6 separate regions of the Homo sapiens genome follow, and all the other regions are linked to region 1. The links are contacts of gene promoters, found by promoter capture Hi-C in human tissues and cell types (Jung and others, 2019). All regions are on one chromosome and are shown on one strand. The core of a region is centred on a gene start or on the middle of the fragment in contact, and the rest is flanking DNA. Distances in the headings are between cores, read along the strand shown.

Region 1 (3,466 bases), core at 363-2,862:
GCTTCAGCGATCCTCCCGCCTCAGCCTCCCAGGTAGCTGAAACCACAGATGAGCACCACCACGCCTGGCTAATTTATTTTATTTTTAGTGTAGGCCCAGGCTGGTCTGGAACTCCTGGGATCAAGTGATCCTCCTGCCTCCTCCTCCCAAGGGGCTGAGATTACAAACCTGAGCCACTCCGCCTGGCCTTCACAGCTTTTCAATCTGGTTCATATCCTTGTTTTGAAGTGTAATTTCTGCTTCTGCTTCACTTTCCTCACTGGAAAGGAGGGTTAATAACATTTATCTTGCAGGATAACATGAGACTTAGAGATAGCCCACAGGTCGGGGCATCTATTGCACAATATAGTTCAGCTCCTAAGAAAACCAACCTAGCACAACCAAAATGTGTGTATTTGTGTTTAGTTGTTTCATCCCCATATTGAATGTGCACAGGATTTTATTTCAACTACTATTTTTACTATACCATTTTTTTAAATGGAGACTTTGAAAAGATATGAAACACAATCCCTGTCCTCCTAAAAGTTTGTGAAATCCCAGCCAGAATGTCTTTGAAACCGTCATTCAAGTAGGGCAGTTCTGCCGAGGGCTAGAGAGCCTTCAGTTTACCCTTGGCAACACCCTCTAAAATCCCCTGTATACCTCTCCAGCTTCCATACACTTCCCAAGCTTTTAACCAGACACGAGACACCCTGAACACCAGCTGTTTAGCATTTAGATAAAACCAAAAAATGTTTCGAGAGGTTGACTCCAAAGATAGCAAAAGATGAAGAGATTGAAGATTTAATCGCGAACAAGCCACCCTATTCCTAATAATCATCACGCTTGGCTGGGCCCCGAAGGAAAAGCCTGGACCCTAGGGGCCTAGAAACAGAGAAAAGAAACAAATGCACAGCAGTTGGGCCACGTCCACCTAAGGAACAGTCACCGCACAAGCGGAGCGTTGCAGAGGAGCCCTGGATCACCCTCCCAGGATCGGAATGGGTGCGGCCCGGGGAGCCCGGTTCTAGGTGGACACCGAGGGCTGGGGAGCAACCGGTCCCGCGTGCCTGCCCGAGGGGCTACTGCCCCCGGGCGTATTTGCATCGCCACACCATCGGATGAAAGTAGCGTGTACGGCTCCAGAAAACACATGTCTCTCGGCTATTTTCAGGGGGGAATGCTGGGCACCCTCTGCTCTAAGTCCCTTGGGGTGGGAAGTTAGTGAACTTTCAGAATGGGGGAAGGCGCAGCCCAAGCGAGCCGGGGGCAGGGTGAGGGGGCGCCGCTGGATAGAGATGGGGGAAGGGCGGAGGTGGTTTCCTGAGTGTCTCCCTCCGGAGCCATCCCCGCGCTCAGCCAGCAGGACCGAGGAGGCGCGGAGACGGCGCTCACTTCTCCCCTCGCCTGCCGGCTTTCCAGTAAAGATGCGCCAGGGAGAGGTGTAGCCTGCTCGGGAAAGGCGGGTGCGGAGCGGGAGCGCGGCCGCCCGGGCCTGGGCGCGGCGGGAGGGGCGGCGGCGGCTCCTCACTGCACCAACCTGCAGGCGCGGGCTGGCTGGGCCAGCCGCGGCCCCTCCCACCGCACCCCACCCCCGCCGCCGCCGCCGCCCCGGGAGCCGGCCCGGGTCCCAGTAGGTGCCGCAAGGAGCCGGCGAGCGGAGCGCCCGCTCGGGACCGCAGCCGCCGGGCGACGTCGCCGCCGCACCGGGCACTTCTGTCTCCCCGGAGCAGGTTCCTTTCCCTCCCTGTCCCCTCTCGTCCCCCTTCTCCCCGTCCGTCCCCCTCCGCCCCCGCCCCCGCCCCCGCCCGCACCTCGCCCTCCCTCCTTCCGCCCCGCGCCTCCCGCGATCGCCCCCTCCCGCCCGGCCGCGCTCCCAGCTGGCGCTCAGCACCCCGCGCTCCCCGCGCCCGCTCGCTCCTCCAGCTCCTCCAGCTCAGTCTCCAGCTCCACCTCCGGCTCCCGCTGGGCCTCCCGCTCGCCCTCCGCGCCCGGCTCCCCGCGCGCCCGTCCCGAGTCCGCTGCTCGCCGGCGGCCGCCCGGTCATGTCAGGATGGAGATCCGGCAGCACGAGTGGCTCTCGGCCTCCCCCCATGAGGGCTTCGAGCAGATGAGGCTCAAAAGCCGCCCCAAGGAGCCCTCCCCAAGCCTGACCCGAGTGGGCGCGAACTTCTACAGCAGCGTCAAGCAGCAGGACTACAGCGCCAGCGTCTGGCTTCGGAGGAAAGACAAGCTGGAGCACGTAAGGGCGACTCGCTCCCGGGGGCCTCGGCCAGGCACCTGCCGCATGCACCCTCCCCGTGGTGGTGGCATGAGCGCGCGCGGGGCGCGGGGGGCAGGCGAGGGGATCCTGGCAGGCGCCGACGTCCTAGGTCGGATTCGGGGGCTTCTCTGCCTGCAGTTTCTTGCCTTAATGACCGGGCTGCGGGGAGGGGAGGGCAGGTTCCCTTTCAGGCTCTTGGTCCCTGCCGACCCGACCTGCCCACCTGCGTCTCCCGGTAGGGTTCATTTGCACGGGGTTCTGGAGGTGCCTGTGCAGAGTGAGCACGAAGGGGAAGTGCCACCAGCGTGGCTCCGAGCAACCTGGCGTTGCATGGTAGTGGGCTTTAGAGCGGCGTTTGCCCGCGTCTTTGGGGGCTGTTTTACTCAGTCCAAAAACTAGCAAATTAACGAATGAGTAAAGTTGGCGCCGCTAGCGACCAGCGTGGACCCGCGCACAAGCCATTAGAGTTTTTTGCAGAGTGTCCGCTGGGATGAGCAGTTGGTGATCCTCTCTACTTGAGCCCAACTAGGGAGAGATTTGCGCGTTGCAAGGAGAAAGGCTAAAAGCGAGCGGATCGTCGGGCTCCCCAGAAATCCTCCCCTCTGGAGGGTGGGAGCCGGTGAGAGGGGACCTCTACTCCCAAGGAGTGCCGACTTCACGCGAAGTGAATTGGCTCTGGAGTTGAGCTCCTAAGGCTTGCTATTTTGAAAGAAAAAAAAAAAACCTTCTAAAAAGGCGTTTAGTGGATCCACAGTTTCAAATTTGATCCATCAGCATCTTCTTAAACCAAATGTTAAAATTAAACTAAGAGAATTATCTCAAGAGTGCAGCACAACTAGCTAAGGAGAAGATGCTATTTCTCCCTGCAGAGCTGCAGAATCCAAATTGAGTCTGCTAATGGAATGTGGAGGTTTCCTTGTATTTGGGTCAGGACGCCAACAATGATAAAAAAGATAAGACCAAGAACTCCTGGAACTCACGCATTTCCAACTGCTGCACCGACCTGCTTCCCATCTGCCCCCCAAAGCACTCCTCCTGGGCTCTGCAGCACCAACAGGCTTCTTCCCAGGAGGAAACACGCGAAGAAGGGGCATTTCTCTATTATAATAATCTGAAAGGAAGGTCTGTGCCTGCTTTCTGAGGGCCTGATGAAGTCACTGAAAGCTCTAATATGAAGCTTTGAGTTGGATAACAGCACTATTTTATGTGTAGAGAGCCATTTGC
Region 2 (3,466 bases), core at 479-2,978, 510 kb after region 1:
CTGTTGAGACTTGAGTGTGGAGGATACACAGGAACGCTTAGCACTGTGACTGATACAGAACAGTTTCTCAACAAATATTCGCTACCATGAAAAAGCATCCAATCAAAAGTGTCAAATGCTGTGATTGCAAGAGGAGGACCCATGGGAGAGTTCCAAGTACTACTTGTATGGAAACGCCTGGGCTTGATAAAACAATAGTGTTAAACCGCAGATGCTAGCCAATACACATTGCATTACAGCTGAATTATGTAAACTTTTGGTGTTTCTAATATTCTAAATTGGGTGCCTTTGTGGAAATTGCTCATCTTCTCGGAGGTACCTGCCTAACTGGTTGAAAGACAAGAACACCACCACCTCTCAGAAATGCCGTGCAGATCAACTGAGACAATGTGTCAAGAACATTTGTAAGAGACCGGGCACAGTGGCTCATGCCTGTAATCCCAACAATTTGGGAGGCTGAAGGGGGCAGATCACTTGAAGTCAGGAGTTCAAGACCAGCCTAACCAACAGTGGCGAAACCTCGTCTCCACTGAAAACACAAAACAATTAGCCAGGTGTGGTGGCGCACGCCTGTAATCCCAGCTAATCAGGAGGCTGAGGTGGGAGGATCACTTGAACCCTGGAAGTGGAGGTTGCAGTGAGCCAAGATTATACCACTGCACTCAAAAAAAAAGGAGAAAGATTTTTAAGCCATAAACTACTATACTCACATGAAGTGTCTGTATTAAGTGAGCAGCCATGAGACTTATTGCACATAAAGGAAATGCTTAAATACATCAAATCATAACCCAAAATGAGGCTACACAGGAAAATCATCTCATTCAAATGTATCAACTTATCAAAAATGGCTTTTTAAACTCTTGTCAATTTTGAGTATTTCTTGCTGAATTTTTAATATATTTTGTAAGTTCAGGCCGGGTGCAGTGGCTCATGCCTATAATCCCAGCACTTTGGGAGGCCTAGTCAGGCAGATCACCTGCGGTCAGGAGTTCGAGACCAGGCTGGCCAACATGGTGAAACCTTGTTTCTACTAAAAATACAAAAAAAAAAAAATTAGCCAGGCATGGTGGCACATGCCTGTAATCTCAGCTACTCGGGAGGCTGACACAGAACAATCACTTGAACCCAGGAGGCAGAGGTTGCAGTGAGCTGAGACTACGCCACTGCACTCCAGCATGGGCGACAAAAAAAAAAAAAAAAAAAAAAAAGTTTGTGTTCTGGAAAAAATAGAAATAATATTTCAAATATTTTAAAAGAAATAAGAACTATCTAGAATTAATTCTATCACATGGAATACCAAATTTTAGGCTGGGAAATGTAATGGAAGTGTTTTATTTCATAACAGAATTTTTGCTTCGAATTTTTACCAATTTGGGGAGAAATTTTTTAAAGCATTAACTTTAACGTTTAGAATTTCATCTTCAGTAACTGAGAATGGAACATTCATGTCAATGCTGTTAAAACCACAGTCAGGAAATTTGTTCAATGTGATCATTTGTCACTTGGTCAATTTGCAGAGTTGGCTCTATTTGCAGTAACTCGATGTAGCCAACATGAGGAACAGCAGAGGGCAACAAAGAGTCAGTAGCCGGGTGGAGGGCGGGGGCACATTTTACCCATTGTGCGTATGTCCAAGCAGCAGTTTGGTCTTCGTGTACCTCAGTAGTAGTTTATTTTATTTATTTTATTTTATTTTATTTTATTTTATTTTATTTTATTTTATTTTATTATTTTATTTTATTTTTGGTAAGCGCATGGCCCCATCACATTTGAAGATAATTCAAATTTTTATTTTTTAAGTGTTTTTGTTTGTTTGTTTTATGACACAAAGTCTCACTCTGTCACCCAGGCTGGAGTGCAGTGCTGCGATCTCGGCTCACTGCAACCTCCGCCTCCTGGGTTCAAGCGATTCTCCTGCCTCAGCCTCCCAAGTAGCTGGGACTACAGGCGCCCGCCACCACGCCCGGCTAATTTTTTGTGTTTTTAGTAGAGATGGGGTTTCACCGTGTTAGCCAGGATGGTCTCGATCTCCTGACCTTATTATCTGCCCACCTTGGCCTCCCAAAGAGCTGGGATTACAGGCGTGAACCACCGTGCCTGGCCTATAATTCAAATTTTTAGTCTAATATATCAGTCCAGGCTGGGCACGGTGGCTCATGCCTATAATCCCAGCACTTTGGGAGGCCCAAATGGGTAGATCACCTGAGGTCAGGAGTTTGAGACCAGCCTGGCCAATATGGTGAAACCCTGTCTCTACTAAAAATACAAAAATTAGCCAGGCATGGTGGCACGTGCCTGTAGTCCCAGCTACTTGGGAGGCTGAGACAGGAGAATTGCTTGAACCAGGGAAGTGGAAATTGCAGTAAATCAAGATCGCACCACTGCACTCCAGCCTGGCAGGCAGAGCACTCTGTCTAAATATATATCCAAAGTAGATTGTGTTAGTAATTTTATTCACCAAAACACCAAAAATCCATATACCAAAGCCAAGACTTTAAAGAGAGAGATTTAAAGGTGGTCTGGCCACCCTTGGATGGTTTTAAGTACATGCTATTCCATGATTTGAATCATTCTGTAATACTCTCCACCCAGGAGAGGAACATTCCCAGCTGTGTAGCTGTGTTCTTGGCTTAAACAGAGCTTCTGAAGCTTGGAAACAAATAACCCAGTTGATGCACAATTGAGAACATAAACAGAGAAGAAATGATCCACTCATACCTTCCCAATGAGGGAAGAGGCTGTATCAAGCACATCTTTGCATATTGCACAATTCTCACTAATTGTTGGTTGAGAGTAAGCCAAATCCATTCATATTTACTGAGCCCATGAGCACATTCAAAGTTAAATATAAATGCACCTGGCAATGCCATAACTACAGAAGATATTTTAGGGTAAAAGATATTGCCTGGAATAAGATCCATGCAAGATTGAAAGGAAACACCAAGAGCATCTAAGATGCAAGGATAAAACTTCAAGGTTTGGAGGAGGAAATTGGAATGGGTGCTGATGGGGCAAGGAGGAGCTGGGATGGAGGGTTTGTTGTGCAGGATGAGACACAGTGTTGGAGGGATTGAGATCAGACCGTGAAGAGTCCTGCCTGGGATTTGCAGTTGACCCTAGGTGTGAGGAGTCATATTTAGGAGTTTTGTTTTTTCCTTAGATTTCTCTGTCCCTCAATTTCCTGTTTCGGGGGCAACAGCTATGTGTGATGAGCAGGGAGATTTATATAGGGATGGCCCAGACTGAGTAGATAGGACATATATCTCTGAATCTCTCCTCTTTACATCTAATCCTTTCCTTGTCGTAGAGAGAATCTTGGAGGCTCCCAGCAAACCGGACAAGGCCAAACAGGACACGCTGATGATGTCAATGACTGAAGAAAAACCCTTTTCTACCCAGGTGCGGTGACTCACACCTGTAATCCCAGCACTATGGGAGGCCAAGTCAAGAGAATCGCTTGAGCCTA
Region 3 (3,466 bases), core at 459-2,958, 420 kb before region 1:
TACCATTTGAATAGGTAGACTGAAGAAAGTAAATTATTCCCCTGATGTAGATGGACCTTTTCTTAGCTGCTGAAAGACTACATGGAACAAAAGGTCGAATAAGAATTCTTTCTCTCTGTCTGATTGTCTTCCAGGTGGGATGTCAGTCTCTTCTGCCTTCTGACTTAGGTTCTGACTGGAACTATCACCATCAGCTCTCCTGGGTCTGGACTTCTCAGCCTTCATAATCACGTGAGCCAATTTCTTATAACAAATCTCTTTTTCTTATGCGTGCGCGCGCGCGCGCGCACACACACACACACACACACACACACACAGATTATTGGTTCTGTTTCCCTGAAAACCTTGACTAATACAAGAATTATTCTATGCACCAAGATAAAGTGAATAAGAAAATAAGGCCCCTGCTCTCACTGACCTTAAATTCTTATAATAAACACAGCAAACAAACAAATGAACAGGGATGATATCAAATCATGCACAAGCCTGTGCAGAGAATTAAAACAAGGTAATATGGTGGTAAGTGACTGGATGGCTCTTTTAGACTGGGTGGTCATGGAAAGTCTTTCTGAGGAGGTGACATTTACACTGAGATTTGATGACAAAAGATTAGCGTGCTGGGGCTGGGCGCGGTGTCTCATGCCTGTAATCCCAGCACTTTGGGAGGCTGAGGTGGGTGGATCACAAGGTCAGGAGATCGAGACCATCCTGGCTAATGTGGTGAAACCCCGTTTCTACTAAAAATACAAAAAACCAGCTGGGCGTGGTGGCATGCACCTGTAGTCCTGGCAGGAGAATCACTTGAACCTGGGAGGCGGAGTTTGCAGTGAGCTGAGATTATGCCACTGCACTCCAGTCTGGGCAACAGGGTGAGACTTCATCTCACACACACACACAAAAATTAGCCTGCTGGAAGACCTGGGGGTAAAAGCTTCCCAATAGAGAGAACAGTAAGTGCAAAGGCTCTGAGGTGGGAACAGGCATGGCATGAGTAACAAAGGCCAAAGTGACTAGGATCTAGTGAAAAAGAGACAAGGGGGTAGAAAATGAGGCCAGAGATTTGTCAGAGCCCAGGTAATGTAGAGTTTTGTAAACTATAAGCCAGAGAGAGTTTGAATTTTATTGTAATGATAATGAAAAGCCACTGACAATTTGGGTTCTGGGTAGTAATAGGATCTAATATGAATTTTAAAAATATCACTCTGGCTGCTGTGTAAGGACTGAATCATAGGACTTGCAAAATGACAGTGGGTCCATTTTTCCATTACTCTCTTCTTCTCCCCAACGCCCTACTAAAATGACCATAAATTTAAATAAAAAGGTAAAACCTATAAGTACAAAGGGAATTAAAGAGGATATGATGGCAACACTAATTTAGAAGCTGAAAAACAGATGGGTGAGTGGTATCTGATTTGTCAGCTCCAAGAAAGTACCTGACTTGTCAGGTATAAGGTTGACAATGGGAGAAGCAGAGATTCTGATTTATTCTATAGATACCCTACCCTCCAAAGCTCTTGCAAAGGCTCAGGAATCACCAAGATCAGGTGCCTCTGGAAATGAGGTCGAGGTGAAGGTTGAAGCATTGGTTGATGGTCAGTTTAAGAAGAAAATAGACTTGCAAATTGATTCCCTCATTCCGTGCAGTTGGTGACTGTCCCTCCTGCCCTCTTCAGAAGACTGAAGATTCATTCTTTGTAGGGGTAAAATCTGAGGGTCTCTAGAGTTACCCAGGCACAGTGGGAGAAGGAGTACCAGAATAAAAACAGGTGAATTAAATGAAAGTTTACATAGCATATGAGTTCTTAGAAAGTTGACAGCAAAACTTATAACCCTCAGGCAGGATATTAGAAAAGCTTTTTCTAGGGAAACTGTACTAGTCTAAGAAATATCTGTACTAGTTCAGATATTGACATGGGGATTCCCAAGGAAATAGTCTGAATAGATCACCTTGTGGGGAGGTGTGCAGTTATGTGCACAATCAGCCAGCTTTTTAGCACTTCACTTAAATATTTACAGACTGCCAAGGATCACCAGACATTTGGGCTCCATTGTTTATATTATAATATAAATTATTAAAGCTAATCAAATATACAAACAGAACAAAGTGTCATGGAGGAGATTTCCCTGTAAGAAAAAGAAAATGCAAAATCAGACAAAAAGTTATTTATACTAATTTCCCTGAAAAGATAAAATGCATCTATGGATCAGGGATAGAATGCTAGAAAACAGAAACATTTAGAAAACAAAAAGATCTTGGGACCTACTCCCACCACCATAGCTGTAATTAAAAACATAACACAACAAAACAAAAATCAACTCAGTGGAATGATTCGAAGGAAAAGCTGAGGAAATCTTCCTGGAAATATAGCAAACAAAAAGATTAGGCCGGGTGCAGTAGCTCACACCTATAATCCCAGCACTTCGGGAGGCTGAGGCAGGCAGATCACTTGAGGCCAGGAGTTTGAGACCAGCCTGACCATCATGGCGAAACCTCATCTCTACTAAAAATACAAAAATTAGCCGTGTGTGGTGGTGTGCACCTGTAATCCTAGCTACTTGGGAGGCTGAGGCATGAGATGCTTGAACCTGGGAGGTGGAGATTGCAATGAGCTGAGATTGCACCAGTGCTCTCCAGCCTGGGTGACAGAGTGAACTCTGTCTCAAAAAAAAAAAAAAAAAAAGGAAAGATTAAAGACAAAAAGAAAAAAGTTATGAAAATTTGAGGACTAGGAATTCCAAAACTTAGATAACATGAGTTAATCAAAGAAGTCAGGGAAAAGAGACAGAAAAAAAAAAATCAAGAAACAGTTTTAGAAAATAATCCAGAACTAAAGTACAGAAATCTTCAGATTGAAAGGGTTCTCTGAATGCCCAACACTGTGGGTGAAAATAGACTAACATACATTGTGAAATATCAGGATACTGAGGAACAAAGAGATGATTATGAAAGCTTTCAGAGGATAAAAACGAAAACATCAAGGCAATTGTTAACTCCAGGGAAAAGAAAAAGTTGCCCAAGAAAGAAAGGTAACCATTGTATACTGCATAGATTAGCAGTAAATAGTGTTAACTGCTTCTCAGGAGGACTTATTGATATTTGGGGAATTTTTTGTGCAGCAGTGTTCTGCATATTGCAGAATTTATGGCATCCCTGACCCTCACCCACTAGATGCCACTGATCCAGTTTATCCTCCTACCGCAATATTCTGACAAACCAAAATGCTGCCCCACACTTCAAATTTCCTCCTAAGGGGCATTATTGAGCCACATCGAAAAATCACTGGTTTACAGAGTAATAATAATGTAAATCCTGATTATTAAATCAAAATTAGTGGATTGTGAAGATAGGGTAACTAGGAGGTGCACAGTCAGAGAACAAAAGCCACACCCTCATTCTTCACAGCAGCAAGTCAATAGATAATGCCAAAAACTGACTAGTCATGATTTATTCAGAGATACAGAGGTA
Region 4 (3,466 bases), core at 676-3,175, 370 kb before region 1:
TGACCGTATGGCACTTTACACTAGGCCATGAGTATCTTTTGCATGTTGTCACTGTTTTTATTGTTTTATCTATCTACCGCAATTCTCTCGTGTAGCACAAAGTTCCATTGCCTCGGTAGACCTTCTCCAAACCTTAAAAACCATCAGTCTAGGCTGGGTGTGGTGGCTCATGCCTGTAATCCCAGCGGGCAGATTGCCTGAGGTCAGGAGTTCGAGAGCAGCCTGGCCAACATGGTGAAACCCCGTCTCTACTAAAAATGCAAAAATTAGCTGGGCGTAGTGGCGGGTGCCTTTAATCCCAGCTACTCAGCAGGCTGAGGCAGGAGAATCTCTTGAATCAGGAGATGAAGTTTGCAGTGAGCTGAGATCGTGCAACTGCCCTCCAGCCTGGGAGACAGAGGCAGACTCTGTCTCAAAAAAAGCAAAAGCCATTAGTCTTGGCCAGGGAGAGTGGCTCATGCCTGTAATCTCAGCACTTTGGGAGGCCGAGGCTGGCAGATTACTTGAGGTCACGAGTTCGAGACTAGCCTGGCTAATGTGGTGAAACCCTGCCTCTACAAAAAATACAAAAATTAGCTGGGTGTGGTGGTGTGCACCTGTAGCCTCAGCTACTCGGGAAGCTGAGGCAGGAGAATCACTTGAACCCAGGAGGTAGAGGTCACAGTGAGCCAAGATCAGGCCAGTGCACTCCAGCCTGGGCGACAGAGTGAGACTGTGTCTCAAAGAACAAACACAAATCATCAGTCTTACTAGGGAGTTTTGTTTTTTTTTTTTTACCAAAAGGGGACTTGTACACAAAAAGTGGGTGAAACCACTCTATTTGTTTGTCTGCAATGTGTTGTCTCACAGAACACAGAGCCCCACTGGGCTGCAGGGAACATTCTATGTGTGTCTGAAGAGGCTGCAACAGTTTGCTAGACCTCCCATAACATGGTATCACAGACTGAAGGGCTTTAACAACAGAAATTTAGTTTCTCACAGTTCTGGAGGCAAGAAATTTGACATCAAGCTCCTGGCTGGGCTAGTTTCTCTGAGGCCTCTCTCCCTGGCTTGTAAACAGCTGTCTTCTATTTCTGTGCTCACAAGGTCTTCTCTTGTGCCTCCCTGTATCCTTGCTGCCTCTCCTTATAAGGACTCTAGTCATAGTGGATTAGGGCCCACCCCAGTGAACCCACTTCATGTTAATTACCTCTTTTTTTTTCCTTTTTTGAGATCGAGTCTTGCTCTATTGCCCAGGCTGGAGTACAGTGGCGCGATCTCGGCTCACTGCAACCTCTGTCTCCCAGGTTCAAGTGATTTTCCTGCCTTAACCTCCCAAGTAGCTGGGATTACAGGCGTGTGCCGCCACACCTGGCTGATTGTTTGTATTTTTAGTAGAGATGGGGTTTTACAATGTTGGCCAGGCTGGTCTCGAACTCCTGACCTCAGGTGATCCACCTGCCTCAGCCTTTCAAAGTGCTGAGATTACAGGTGTGAGCGAGCGGTAACCGCACCTGGCCATGTTAATTACCTCTTTAAGGAGCATATGTCCAAAGACAGTTAGATTCTGAGGCACTGAGTGTATGAATTTGTGGGAGGGAACACAATTCATCCGATAACATATACTAACTCACTCCGGAGTACACATATGTCAGATTGTATAGCTACAGCCCGATAACTTTCCAAAAGGGCTGTAGCAGGTACATTGTCACCAGCAGTCCCTGAAGGTAGCTGGTTCCCTGCATTCAGCCTCCCCTGGAGGTTAACATTTCTAATGTTTTGCCAACCTGGTGTCTGTGTGGCAAGTACAATCACGTTGTTCCTTTCATTCCCAAGTTTCCCAATGGATGTGTTTGTTGTCTTTCAGTTGTTTAATATCTGCTCAGGGCGTCTTTTCCCTGAGCCAAATGCTCAGATCCCCTAGGTTCTCTGATGAGCTTTCTGCCTGGAGTCTCCTGGCATTTTCCCTTTTGCCAGGTGTGGGATTGTTTTAGCTATTTCTCAAGACTCCCTTTAATGTTAAAGGAAGAAAAACAAATTATGTTGCTTTAAGTCCAAAGAGTTCTTCTAGAGTGTCTTGCCCTGTGCACTGTCTCTGAAAAGGAGAGGAAAGGAAGCTTCCCCAGGCCCTTCTCCTCCATGGCAGGAGCAGGCTGAGCCTCAGGTAGTTTAGAGGGAATTTCATGCAGCCTCCCTTGTGGATGATTCTCTGTTCTGACTGATGTGCTGTTGAGCAGCCATTTGACATCCAAAAGTCTGTGTCTTCTCATCTATACAATGAGTGTATTTTTTTTGAGGACTCACTTGGATAGTGCTCTTCATACAGGCTGTTAATACAGGTGGGTGCTGTTGCTCCACAGTTGCCAAATACTGTGATGGTGCCTTGAAGCTATTAATGATTTAATGAATATCTGTCCCCCCCATCACATTTTACATTGAAAGTCTAAAACCTTTTTCACCATGAACACCCATGTCCTCCACATGCACAAGTCCCTGAAGGGTTGAGGCTTCCTAGTCTGATCTCCAGATCCCAATTCCCTGGTGGCTCATGATGCTGTCACTGACCGTGTCCTTCCTGGTCCTCTCTAGTATGAAAATGAGCGTACTCTGAACCTAGGGGAGATCTGTACTATGCAGAGGGACCCCCCAGCCAGGCACAAGGGAGAGGCTGGTGGAATCCCTGGTTCCAGCCTTCCAGGGTCAAACCATCCCCTCCTTCAGGAGCTTCCTGGGCTCCTAGTGGGACTTCACCACCATCCTACAGTTCTTGTAAGGGAGGAGACCACCCCTCATATTGTCTTATGCCCAATTTCTGTCTCCAAAGAAAGAAGAACTAAGAACTAAAAGGCAGAAATGAAATCCACAGGCAGACAGCCCGGCGCCACACCCTGGGCCTGGTAGTTAAAGATCGACCCCTGACCTAATCGGCTATGTTATCTACAGATTCCAGACATTGTATAGAAAAGCACTGTGAAAATCCCTGTCCTGTTCTGTTCCATTCTAATTGCTGGTGCATGCAGCCCCCAGTCACGTACCGCCTGCTTGGTCAATGGATCACGACCCTCTCACGCAGACCCCCTTAGAGTTGTGAGCCCTTAAAAGGGACAGGAATTGCTCACTCTGGGAGCTCGGTTGTTGGAGACGTGAGTCTTGCCGAAGCTCCCGGCCGAATAAAGCCCTTACTTCTTTTTTTTTTTTTTTTTTTTTTTTTTATTATACTTTAAGTTTTAGGGTACATGTGCACATTGTGCAGGTTAGTTACATATGTATACATGTGCCATGCTGGTGCGCTGCACCCACTAACTCGTCATCTAGCATTAGGTATATCTCCCAATGCTATCCCTCCCCCCTCCCCCCACCCCACAACAGTCCCCAGAGTGTGATGTTCCCCTTCCTGTGTCCATGTGATCTCATTGTTCAATTCCCACCTATGAGTGAGAATATGCGGTGTTTGGTTTTTTGTTCTTGTAGATAGTTTCCTGAGAAT
Region 5 (3,466 bases), core at 614-3,113, 330 kb before region 1:
GGAGCTCTAAATCTTGAAACACATCAAAACAGGACGTCTTTAAAGCATAAACCTCACAGGACCTATAAAACAAAAATAGAAGTTAAAAAACAAAGACAGAAAACAAAAAAACCCAAAGTACACAGGCAACAAATAGCATGATGGATGTGATGGTACCTCATACCTCAATAGTAACATTGAATGTAAATGACCTAAATGCTCCACTTAAAAGACGCAGAACAGCAGAATGGATAAGAACTCACCAATCAACTATCTGCTGCCTTCAATAGAGTCACCTAACACATAAGGACTCATATAAAGGGGTGGAAAAAGGCATTTCATGCAAATGGACACCAAAAGCAAGCAGGGGTAGCTATTCTTACATCAGACAAAAGAAACTTTAAAGCAACAGCAGTTAAAAGAGACAAAGAGGGACATTATATAAGGTAAAAGGCCCTGTCCAACAGGAAAATATCACAATCCTAAACATATATGCACCTAACACTGGAGCTTCCAGATTTATAAAACTATTACTAATAGACCTAAGAAATGAGATAGACAGCAACACAATAATAGTGGGGGACTTCAGTACTCCACTGACAGCACTAGACAGGTCAACAAGACAGAAAGTCAACAAAGAAACTATGGAGTTAAACTATGCCTTGGAACAAATGGACTTAACGGATATATACAGAACATTCCATCCAACTACAGCAGAATATATATTCTATTCAACAGCATGTGGAGCATTCTCCAAGATAGACCATATGATAGGCCACAAAAGAGCCTCAATAAACTAAAGAAAATTGAAATTAGGCCAAGCACTCTCTCAGACCACAGTGGAATAAAATTGTAAATCAACTCCAAATGGAAACTTCAAAACCATGCAAATACATGGAGCTTAAATAATCTGCTCCTGAATGATCCTTGGGTCAAAACGAAATCAAGATGGGAATAAAAAATTATTCAAACATAATGACAATAGTGACACAACCTATCAAAACGTCTGAGATACAGCAAAGGTGATGCTAAGAGGAAAGTTTATATCCCTAAACGCCTACATCAAAAAGACTAAAAGAGCACAAACTGACAATCTAAGGTCACACTTTAAGGACCTAGAGAAGCAAGAACAAATCAAACCAAAACCCAGCAGAAGAAAGGAACTAACCAAGATCAGAGCAGAATTAAGTGAATTGAAACAAAAAAATTACAAAAGATAAATGAAACAAAAAGCTGGTTCTTCAAAAAGATAAATAAAATTGATAGAGCATTAGCAAGATTAACCAAGAAAAGAAGAGAGAAAATCCAAATAACCTTAATAAGAAATGAAATGAGAGATTTTACAACTGACACCACGGAAATACAAAAGATAATTTGAGGCCAGTATGAACACATTTACATGCATAAACTAGAAAACCTAGATGAGATGGATACATTCCTGGAAAAATACAACCTTCCTAGCTTAAATCAGGAAGAAGTAGATACCCTGAACAGACCAATAACAAGCAGTGAGATTGAAATGATAATTTAAAAATTACCAACAAAAAAAATCTAGGACCAGATGGATTTGCAGCAGAATTCTACCAGACATTCAAAGAAGAATTGGTACCAATCCTATTGACACTATTCCACAAAACAGAGAAAGAGGGAACTCTCCTTAATTCATTCTATGAAGCCAGCATCACCCTAATGCCAAACCTAGGAAAGAACATAAACAAAAAAGAAAAGTATAGACTGATATCCCTGATGAACATAGATGCTAAAATCTTTAACAAAATACTAGCTAACTGAATCCAACAACATATCAAAAAGATAATTTACCACGATCAAGTGGATTTCATACCACGGATGCAGGGATGGTTTAGCATACACAAGTCAATAAATGTGATAAACCACATAAACAGAATTAAAAACAAAAGTCACATGATCATGTCAATAGATACAGAAAAATCATTTGACAAAATCCAGCATCCCTTTATGATGAAAACTTTCAGCAAAATCAGAATACAAGGGACATACCTCAATGTAATAAAAGCCATCTATGACAAACCCACAGCCAACAGAATACTGAATGGGGAAAAGTCGAAAGCATTCACTCTGAGAACTGGAACAAGACAAGGATGCCCACTCTCACCACTCCTCTTCAACACAGTACTAGAAATCCTAGCCAGAGCAATCAGACAAGAGAAAGAAATAAAGAGCATACAAACAGATAAAGAGGAAGTCAAACTGTCACTGTTGATGATATGACAGTTTACCTTGAAAACCCTAAAGATTCCCCTAGAAAGCTCCTACAACTGATAGAAGAATGCAGCAAAATTCCTGGATGCAAAATTAATGTACACAAATAAGTAGCTCTTCTATACACCAACAGCAACCAAGTGGAGAATCAAATCAAGAATTCAACCCCTTCTACAATAGCTGCAAAAAACATAAAATGCTTGGGAATATACCTAACCAAGGAGGTGAAAGACCTCTACAAGGAAAACTACAAAACACTGCTGAAAGAAATCATAGATGACACAAATGGAAACACATCCCATGCTCATGGATGGGTAAAATCAATATTGTGAAAATGACCATACTGTCAAAAGCAATCTATAAATTCAATGCAATCCCCATCAAAATACCACCATTATTCTTACAGAATTAGAAAAAACAATCCTAAAATTCATATGGAACCAAAAAAACAGCCTGCACACCCAAAGCAAACCTAAGCAAAAGAACAAATCTGGAGGCATCACATTACCTGATTTCAAACTATACTATAAGGCCATAGCCGCCCAAACAGTATGGTACCAGTATAAAAATAGGCACATAGACCAATGGAAAAGAATAGAGAACCCAGAAATAAACCCAAATACTTACAGCCAAATGATCTTTAACAAAGCAAACAAAAACATAAGGTGAGGAAAGGACACTGTTTTCAACAAATGGTGCTGGGATAATTGGCTAGACACATGTAGGAGAAGGAAACTGTAACCTCATCTCTCACCTTATACAAAAATTAACTCAAGATGGATTAAGGACTTAAATATCAGACCTGAAACTATAAAAATTCTAGAAGACAACATTGGAAAAACCCTCTAGGCATTGGCTTAGGGAAGGATTTCATGACCAAGAACCCAAAAGCAAATGCAATAAAAACAAAGATAAATAGCTGGGACATAATTAAGCTAAAAAGCTTTTTCACAGCAAAAGGAACAGTCAGCAGAATAAACAGACAACACGCAGAGTGGGAGAAAATCTTCACAATCTACACATCAGACAAAGGACTAATATCCAGAATCTACAATGAACTCAAACAAATCAGCAAGAAAAAAACGACCCCATCAGAAAGTGGGCTAAGTACATGAATAGACAATTTTCAAAAGAAGGTAAACGAATGGCCAACAAACATATGAAAAAATACTCAACATCACTAATGATTAGGGAAATGCAAATCAAAACCCCAATGCGATACCACCTTACTCCTGCAAGAATGGCC
Region 6 (3,466 bases), core at 719-3,218, 300 kb before region 1:
AATAATTGGTTTTAGAAAAGGTCCATATGCTCCTGGGAGAGTGGTGTGGGTCTTGCTCTTGACATGCTGTGAAGCTTTCAGGTGATTCTGATTCCTTTGATTATACAGTCCTCCAAGGTAAGGTAAATGGTCGCTTACAGAGTTTCTTGGGGCTGTGGAGGGCTGATGTTGAATTTGACAAGAGTTACCCCCTACAAATTCTAGGATTTGAAAATGTTTCCACAGTTGCCAGTCTCCATCTTGCTCTTCCCCATAGATCTTGAGCAAATTTTGATATCTTGCTGCATTTTCTTTTCCCCAGTATATGATTTAGCTCATATCAAGCAAAAACTTCAATTATTTTTATATCAAGGTTGGCAAATAAATTTCATCTTTTGTAGCAACTTCTACTGATTGGTAATGGGGAATTGGAATCCCGTGTTAAAAAAGATTCTGAGGCATGAGTTCCTGGTGGGAAGGAGTATTTAATGCCCAATCATTAGTATCTACAGTGGGCGTGAGAATCAAGGTGGGATAGCATGCTTGTCTTGTGTCTGCTGAATTTTTACCCTTTTCCAAAGCCTAACTGCTTTGTTAGAGCCCTGTGGGGGTGAATCAGACATTCAGATTGCCTTTGTTCTGCCTGAGCATGAATGCCAAGAGTAATACAGCCATGCTCTCTGGCCTCATCACAAAGACACAGCTGGGGAGGCTTTGATTCAAGCCCAGGGAGACAAGGGAGAGTCTGTGACCGGCGAACCTGGATGAACAGTGACAGAGTTTTTTTCCAAATAACTTAAACCATTTTTTTTATGACACAAAACGACTTCAGTGGCAGATTTTCTTTTTTTCAATGTCATCAATGTCATGTTGACATGGACCCAAACATCTTTTCTCTTTTTTGGGAGAAATAATCAAGAGGCTGAAATATTAGCATTATCAAGACATTATGTGGTTGACAGGGACAAATAGAACAACCTACCTAGAGGCCTTCTCTCCTCACTTAGTTTCTGACACCCAGTTCTATGCTGCCACCTGCCCCCCATCTATCTTCATGGGCATTTTCTTAGCCCCTTGGGTTTTCATGCGCTGTCAGACTTCACCTAGACATGACCACCCTTTTCATTCTGCCTGGACCCCAACTCATGCCAGGCTTCCCTTGTGTGTGGATGCCCTCCTAACGCCCTCCAACTCACGCCGATCATGCCCCCTGGCGTAGACACACTCCTTACCATGCTTGGTCTCTGATTCCCAGTACTAGGCTGCCCTCTGCAGACATGGCCTTCTCATCTTGCTGGCACACTGACTCCTCATTCCCATGCCGCCCCACCTCTCAGACAGCCTCTTTACCACTTGGGTTCCCATACCCCATGCCAGGCATCCCTCCTGCATGCATGTCCTCTTCACCCCACATGGGCCTTGACACCTGCTTGGAGGCACGGTGGCCCGTTCTATCCCTATCAGCCTGTCTTGCTCTACCTCAATAAATAGCTTGAGGATGCATTGTTCAGGAAGGAACAGGAAGGAAGGGAAAAGTGGAAGCACTGTAAAAATGTTATTATATGTCCTGAATTATATATTTACTGAAATGATGTAAAAACAGAAAAAGCAAAAGATAGGAAACACAAGCTGACCACAACATGCAGCGATTCCCCAGTGATAATCCAGTGATTAATATTTTGCTGTACATTCTTTTTCTTCTTTTTCTGTGCATACATATCTGTATCTAAAACTAATCTATATTCCTATCTATATCTATTTTGTCTCTTTGTGAATGTTAGGTATTAGTCATACCTAAACCCAGAAAACAAAAAATGATACAGAGTTTTAGAGAGGGGAGAGCTTGGCATTTTTAATGCTGAGGCTTTGTCTGTAGCAACAGAACTATTTTCTGTAGACAAAATCTGGAACTCCATCTGGTTTTTTTTTTTTTTTTTTTTTTGAGGACTTTAGTCAAGGGATTGGCACAGGAGTGAGTCAGCCTATCTCAGCTACTCTGTGTAGAGTCATCCCATCTGTAAAAAGGAGATAAAACTTGCATGTTTGAAATGCTCATAAAATGCTCTAAAGGTATTTGATGAAAATGGTAAATGTTCAATAAATATTTAAATAAAACAAGAAATGACTTAATATACTTTTTTCTCACCATCTGGGGTCAGAGACATCTTAATAAGTATATAATCAGCCTTCAGGCAAAGACAATTTAGGCAGCTTAAAACATATTTCAATTATGAATTTCACCACATTTTCATTAGAGTTCAAAAGATCCCCAAAAAATGTTTTCCAGGAAAGAAAATGGAAGTTCATAGCCGGGATTTTAATAATGAACTTAGGTCTGGTTTTCATTTGTTTCCATTGATATGTGTGTGTGTGTGTGTGTGTGTGTGTGTAAATATTTAAACATATGGAGAATATATATAATGAGAAAGAAATGGAGTTCCTTTCTCCAGGTCTGTTGCTGCTCTTTTGAGTGGGACAGATGCTCTTGCTGCCTAGGGAGAGAGAGAATCAGATACAGCTCTGTTAGAAGCTAGCAAGAGGTGAGGCAGAGACCAGAACTCAGGGTTCTGACATCAGATCTGAGCCTGTAAAAAAAAAAATGTTGGTCTAAAGTGCACACCCCGAGGATAAACTTCTAATGAAATTTCTGTCTGGCACAAATGTGTAGGAGAATGTTCGTTTCAGAATTGTGACTGGGGAAAATGATTCATAAATTCTGTGAGGAGACTCTCACACAATATCAAGCATTTGCCAACTATAAACAATATAGGATGATAAAAATAGCCGGCTCCCTAGCCCTTGCATTTCATGCAGGCTGTTGTCAGCAGGGTCTGCTGCCTGAGCACATCTCTGCGGCTTTGGGAGGCTCTGGGGAACCCCGTTTTTGAAAGCTGGTCTTGACATTCCTTTCAGGACACCTTGTTACCCAAATCAGTATATCTCTGTCCTTATTAGCTTCATAAATATTTATATTACTAAGTGTCAGAGCCTCGGGGCTCTTGTCACTTTGTCACCTTTATGATGCCTCTCCTGCACTCTCTGTGATGTTGCTTGAATGGATTATATGGCCAGGGGCCAGTGTAGAGTTCCGGATGGTCAGATGGTTGTCTGCACATTAGAAAAAGATGCTGTGTGCAAGAGTGGTAGACATAGGAAGGCAAAAAGAGCACTACGTATGAGGGACAATGCAAAGACTGGGTAATAAGACCTATTTCTGCCTCCACCTCCAGGACCTCTGGAACGACCTCTCAAGGTGTCAGCTTTTCAGATGCCTTCCTTCTGTTTGTCCAGTCATATTCCCCTCCTTCAAGTATTAGCTCAAGTTTATCTCCTTAAAATTAAATGATCTCCATCTCCTATCTGCCAGGCAACTCCTGACCTACTAGATAATTCTCTTTGTTATCATAATTCTTGCATTGCTAAAGGTTATATGTAGTTTAGGTCCAATGACTCACTCTATTATACTATAAGGAAGTTTAGGGGAAGG

Evidence for each region. Contacts are between HindIII fragments. The study calls those that stand out against the background at their distance.
Region 2: a contact is called between a fragment that was not itself captured here and the fragment with the promoter of PLD5 in region 1, in 1 of the 25 tissues and cell types used here (bladder).
Region 3: a contact is called between a fragment that was not itself captured here and the fragment with the promoter of PLD5 in region 1, in 2 of the 25 tissues and cell types used here (adrenal gland and mesendoderm cells).
Region 4: a contact is called between a fragment that was not itself captured here and the fragment with the promoter of PLD5 in region 1, in 6 of the 25 tissues and cell types used here (H1 embryonic stem cells, adrenal gland, bladder and 3 more).
Region 5: a contact is called between a fragment that was not itself captured here and the fragment with the promoter of PLD5 in region 1, in 5 of the 25 tissues and cell types used here (H1 embryonic stem cells, dorsolateral prefrontal cortex, mesenchymal stem cells and 2 more).
Region 6: a contact is called between a fragment that was not itself captured here and the fragment with the promoter of PLD5 in region 1, in 1 of the 25 tissues and cell types used here (hippocampus).

Annotation. Positions count from the first base shown.
Region 1 is chr1:242,522,843-242,526,308 of GRCh38, reverse strand. It overlaps PLD5 (phospholipase D family member 5), which reads left to right and starts at 1,612. Exons shown (of 10, transcript NM_001372062.1): 1 at 1,612-2,221. The coding sequence starts at 2,033. The HindIII fragment of the contact is 9,545 bases long and covers 1-3,466 here.
Region 2 is chr1:242,015,907-242,019,372 of GRCh38, reverse strand. No RefSeq gene overlaps it. Among named protein-coding and RNA genes, the nearest start is that of MAP1LC3C, 19 kb to the right of the region's middle. The HindIII fragment of the contact is 9,592 bases long and covers 1-3,466 here.
Region 3 is chr1:242,941,419-242,944,884 of GRCh38, reverse strand. No RefSeq gene overlaps it. Among named protein-coding and RNA genes, the nearest start is that of LINC01347, 160 kb to the left of the region's middle. The HindIII fragment of the contact is 4,970 bases long and covers 1-3,466 here.
Region 4 is chr1:242,891,802-242,895,267 of GRCh38, reverse strand. No RefSeq gene overlaps it. Among named protein-coding and RNA genes, the nearest start is that of LINC01347, 210 kb to the left of the region's middle. The HindIII fragment of the contact is 6,988 bases long and covers 1-3,466 here.
Region 5 is chr1:242,849,849-242,853,314 of GRCh38, reverse strand. No RefSeq gene overlaps it. Among named protein-coding and RNA genes, the nearest start is that of LINC01347, 250 kb to the left of the region's middle. The HindIII fragment of the contact is 9,355 bases long and covers 1-3,466 here.
Region 6 is chr1:242,826,207-242,829,672 of GRCh38, reverse strand. No RefSeq gene overlaps it. Among named protein-coding and RNA genes, the nearest start is that of LINC01347, 270 kb to the left of the region's middle. The HindIII fragment of the contact is 4,027 bases long and covers 1-3,466 here.